2 separate regions of the Homo sapiens genome follow, and region 1 is linked to region 2. The links are contacts of gene promoters, found by promoter capture Hi-C in human tissues and cell types (Jung and others, 2019). All regions are on one chromosome and are shown on one strand. The core of a region is centred on a gene start or on the middle of the fragment in contact, and the rest is flanking DNA. Distances in the headings are between cores, read along the strand shown. Region 1 overlaps CNTNAP4 (contactin associated protein family member 4). Region 2 holds the start of CNTNAP4 (contactin associated protein family member 4).

Region 1 (2,789 bases), core at 185-2,684, 200 kb before region 2:
AAGGAAACATTGTTTTCCTGTTTCAGCTCTCATACTATGAACAAATGTCTCATTTGTAGTCTATTAAGTGCCACATTTTTTTGCATTTTTGTGCTACTCATTGGTGATTTTGCTGTTTAAAACGCCCCCTACTCCCAGAAATGTTGTCGAGTGCTCCTAAGCACAGAAGGTTGCACGCACTGAGCCCTAGAAAGAAAACACGTATGTTAGATAAGCTTTGCTCAGGCGTGAGCTACAGTGCTCTTGGCCATGAGCTCAATGTTAATGAATCAACAGTATGTATTAAATAAGGTGTCTTTAACCTGAAACACACATAAAACAAGATTATGTATTGATTGGTGAATGAGACCGTTGTGACCAGAGGCTTGCAAGAAACTAATTGTACTGTGATTCCCCCAGGAGTAATTTGTTCAGTGTTTTCCAATCCAGTGTTCTTGGTTACTTTACGGAACATAACGACTGCAAACAATGAGAATGGATGTGTGTGTGTGTGTGTGTGTGTGTGTGTGTGTGTGTGTGTGTGTGTTTCTTAAAACTTCAAAGACTAGAGATATTTATCAACCTATCGCTGTCTAATTTCAGAATGAAACTTCCTATAACATGTGTATGTGTATAGATCCGGATGCATTTATGGGAACATAGAATTTACAGGTTTGCAGTGGTGGATTGTTACATAAATCTCACTCACAATCCAACCTATCCAAGCTGGAAAAAAAATAATAAAACATTTTGGCACTGGAATTCATATCTTACACTTGTAAAGTCTTCTCTCTTTTTTTCTCTGTAAAGTCCTCTCACATTTGTTATGTTTAATTCTCGCATACCAGAGTTGCCAGTGCATACTGAAGTTTGAGAACCATGAAGTCTAAAACAGTGATTCCCAAACCTAAGTACACATAAGAATCATTTGGGAAGATCCATGATGATATTATTTCCATTGGCCCAACTCAGTGGTTGCACTGGATGAGAAGCACCTGCAGTGCTGTCTGGGCATTTGTACTGCACAGGCGGGAGAGCTTCATTGAGAAGACACATATGCAGGAACACCATTTGTTTGGGCTGTTTTGGTGTATGAGGCAATGTCCTCAATGGTTGTGAGACAGATAGAAGCTACCAAGTTGTGTTAAATGAAAAACCTTTGAAGATACTAATTTATAGCAATTTCTGCCAAAATATGTGTTGGCACAGAGTTTGCCACCACCTGCAGTTTTTAGAACTAAACATTCATTAGTATAAAGAAGCGGTTGCTCCCATATTCAAATGCCTCCTCAGAATCTTGTTTGAACATGGAAAAACAGACATCTCAAACTAAAAAAAAAAAAAAATTGTGTAAAACAGAGCTTATGATCTTTCACCTTAAACCTTTTCTGATCACATCTTAAATAATGACAATTCAAACACTCAATTACTCAGGGCAAAAACTGTGTCGTTATTTTTGGCTTTTTGTTTTCTCACACCTCATAGCTATGCAAAGAGAAAAATCTAACACCTTTCCTCCATCTACAGTGCTATTATCTTGTACAATCAGTCCTGGATTTTTGCATTACTTGAAATGGTCTCCCAATACAATTAAGATACTGAAATTGTATCTTATAAAGTACAATATGCATAGTCTCATCACTCTTTTCCACCCATGCTCCTGAAGAAGCATTCCCTAACCCAGGAGCAGTTGCAATCCAACTAAAGGAAGTCAGATTGCATCCCACCGTTTCTTAAAACTACAGTATAATAAAAATTAAAAAAAAAAATAAAAAAATAAACTCCTCAGTGTCTTCTCATCTCATTTCAGAGTAAAAAACCAAAGGTCTTACAACATTGTCATGAAGCCCATACTCTTCCCCTCCCCACCCAACTTGCCTCTCTCCTCTCTTCCTACGCCCCACTTACTCACCATACTCCCGCTATCCTAGGTTTGTTGCTGTTTTCTGAACACACCTGGTAAGTAAGATCATCTGTCTCAGAACTTGGTACTTTCTGTTTCCTCTGCCCGAAAGATATGTTCTTCAATTTTAAGTACCAAATCTCCCCTTGCAACACCCTCTGCCTCAATGTATAATAATTTTGCCCTTTTCCTTTGGTTTTGCTCCATAAAATATTGACTTCTAACACTGTTCATTGTAACTTTCAGCAAATGACAAGGTTCTACATCTACAATGATACACTCCATACTAGCCCCGGGAGGCTATTAAGCAGTTAAAATGCAGCCAGGGAGACTGACAAAGTAAACTTAAAAAAAGAAAAATAGAGATGGGGTCTCACTATGTTGCCCAGCCTGGTCTCGAACTCCTGGGCTCAAATTATGCCCCCGCCCTGGCTTCCCAAAGTGCTGGGATTACAGGTGTGAGCCACTGCACCCGGCTGTTATTTAATCCTATTTTAGTTAAATTTTTAAATTTAAGTTTAAATTTTTAAAATGCAGTCATTTTGTTTTGTAATTAATTTTAATTAAATTAGAATTCAAATAGGCACTTGCTAGTGGCTACCATGTTGGACAGCACAGTTCATCTAGAATCTATTTTGTGTGTGTGTGTTTGATGAGGAGGAGATCAATACTCCTTTTACTGACATTTAAGTACAAATTCCACCAGCACTACTGGTTGAAAAGACCATCTTTCCTTCATTACATATCAATGCCACCTTGGCAATAAATCAATTATCCATATATGAGTGAGTCTGTTTATAAATTCTCTATTTTGTTTTTATTGGTTTATTTGTTTATCTTTGTGACAGCTATATACGGCTTTACGTAGCCAATCAGTATAATGCCTATATCCAGTAGAGCTGAATCC
Region 2 (2,700 bases), core at 54-2,553:
GTTCTTGGAAAGCAAATGAGCTTTTCCTTTAAAATCCAAGAAAAAATAAAAAGTTGTATTTGCCAAGCTTGTTTGTCATTAATCAGGAGGGGAAAATTCTCCCATTTAGAGAATTTAAGCCAAAGATAACTTTTAAAACTTTTTCTATCTCTAATAAAGAGTGGATGAAGGGAGTCTGCCAAATTATTATGGATGATATCTAAATTATAAATAAGATTTCAATCTTCCCTAAATAGGTTCTATTTCATCAGAACATTCAATTACAAATTTATGCAGTTAAGCATTCAACCACAAAGGAATCCTACTTTTGAAAGACCACCTGACTGGTTTTCCTTTAAGCGAAATGTAGGAAGAGGCTCCTCTTTCCGGAGAGCGCTAAGTCTCATTCTCTTAGCAGCGAGGGCACAGCTCTTAATACTGAGACTCGCCTCAGCCAGTGCTGGTGCTCCTGAAGCCTGCAGTACATTTCAGTTATTAGCCTGCATTATTTTAAAGATGCAGGCAGCTACTGGTCTGCCCAATTGCAAACTTCAGAAATCTAAGCCAATGCAGCATAATGTAAAGTCTGCCAGTTGTTTTCCTCTTAGACATAATTCCAATAAAATTCAGTAGTTCTTTAAAAAAGAAGAAATGAAGATATTCACAGGCTATTCCCCCGATAAGATGCTAATTTCATGTTTTACTAGAACTTGGGCATTCTCAATGAATACTCAAAGACCAGAGGGTAAGATTCTGCGAGTAGACAAAAAGAGAAATGACACTTTGCCTATTTTGACCAGACCAAGAGGAGAGACAAGTGTTAACCGGTCACATTGGCAAGATTTTTAAGTGATGCTTGGTTTACAGCAATACGCTTTGCAGCAATCCCAGCTGCAAATAATCATCATCAAACCAACAGAATCAAAGTTTTGCAGAGAGCCCCCCAGCAAGTTTTAAATCATTTGCTGTATACTTACAGGAATTCCCAGCTTCGACTCTGTTCCAATTTTGAGTAGATAACAGAAGTAGCGTCTTGAGGACAGCTCCCGTGACAGATCCCATGTTCACATTTATTGGGCTCCCCCAAAAGATCTTGAGAGGCTCTCAGAGCGCTCCAGTCCTCTTCTCAGTAGCTCTGCCAGCTCTGTCTGGGTCTTCAGCCCCTCTAGGTCTCTGTCTCTCCCCCTCCCTTCCTCCTCACCTCCCTCCGTCTTTTCTTCTTCCCTCCTCCCTCTCTTCTCTCTCCCTCTCTCTCTCCCCGTCTCTGTCTCTCTCTTTTCTCTCTCTCTCTCACACACACCTCCCTGACTCCTCACTGAAAAGCACTCAGCATCTTTCCTAACAAGCATCCACACCGCCGAGGCCACGCCCACTCCTCGCAGCAGCGGTCCCACAAATTGGCAGCAGCATCCTTCCTTCCAAACACACAACAGCGCTCGAGCTCCGCTGCACCCAGAGGCGCGGCCTCCCGTTCGTGGGCCTCCTTGGGGCTCCCTCCCTTCTCTTCTATTTTCCAATAATCCTTAACCCTTTTCTCCCAGCTGGAGGTGTGAGTGGGGGAAGGGACAAGGCGGTGGAGCCTTCTGATTTTCTGGAGGTCTTGCATTTGCAAGAGCCAGAAAACACACTGAGCCATTCCTGATTATCCGGGAGTGCATCCAGGTAAAATTGCATTATGTTTCAAAACAAAAGCATAAAATAAGACAGAAATAACTAAGCAGCATTGGGAAATTGTAGCTAAAACCGTCCTCAGGGAAAATACTTGCTGTTGTTTTTCTCTGTTTCTATAAAACTGTACTCTTCAGCGAGGGTGCCAGGATTTTATTATGGAAATTCCCCACATGGGAACAGACATTCCTGCTTAGCAGATATTTAAAATCATCTGGTAGTAGTCTGCAAGAAATTAACATTTCTTATTTTAATGCTTCAGGTGTATAAATCCACAAATGAAATGCTTTGGCTAGATTTATGTTGATGAATGCATCATGCTGTGAATATGAAGTACCATTCTATAATCAAAATTTTTAATAACATTTCCAAAAAGGCCCAAAGTAGGAAATGAGGGAATACTGAAGAAAGGGACCTCCACCACCACCACATACACACATGCATACACATTCACACAAACACTGAACAATGTGACGATGTAATTCAGGTGACTTAAAGGAGAGAGGAGTAAAGTTGAATTTGGAAGATCAATGATTAAAGAAAAATTACTCTTTGAATGGCTGGTCCATGGATACAACTGTTTCTTGAATGGAATTTTAAAATGTCTAAATAATGGAGTTACTATCACATAACAAGAAGCATGTCACATGGTTCATAGCAGATAAATAATCTATTTAAAATAAATGTCAAGATGTTTTACTGATAATGTGCTAGATTTTATACAAATGGAAATCCTGGAGTTCTTAAGTGCCTCTTGGTAATCACAAATTGGAAGAAACATAAGCCTTTAACACCACTTTCTTATGGAATAATGAGAGTGGGTTTGTCAAAGATCAGATAGGTTTGTCAAAGAGTGAGAAAATGACAGAAATACCCGTAAGAACTAAACATGCTTGTTTAGCTCATGCCTGCAAACAAAGCAGAATGCATCTTTTTTCTTTTCCTGTTTTACAAGAGAAAACAAGAACAGAGAATTTAAATGATTCGAAGAGGTCATAGAGTTAGTAATAAATGCTGAGGACTGGATTTGGCTTTTCTGACTCCAGTTTTACT

Evidence for each region. Contacts are between HindIII fragments. The study calls those that stand out against the background at their distance.
Region 1: a contact is called between a fragment that was not itself captured here and the fragment with the promoter of CNTNAP4 in region 2, in 2 of the 25 tissues and cell types used here (dorsolateral prefrontal cortex and mesenchymal stem cells).

Annotation. Positions count from the first base shown.
Region 1 is chr16:76,480,969-76,483,757 of GRCh38, reverse strand. All of the region lies in intron 12 of CNTNAP4 (contactin associated protein family member 4), which reads right to left. Among named protein-coding and RNA genes, the nearest start is that of LINC02125, 150 kb to the left of the region's middle. The HindIII fragment of the contact is 4,754 bases long and covers 1-2,789 here.
Region 2 is chr16:76,276,004-76,278,703 of GRCh38, reverse strand. CNTNAP4 (contactin associated protein family member 4) reads right to left here and starts at 1,303. Exons shown (of 24, transcript NM_033401.5): 1 at 957-1,303. The coding sequence starts at 1,041. The HindIII fragment of the contact is 9,673 bases long and covers 1-2,700 here.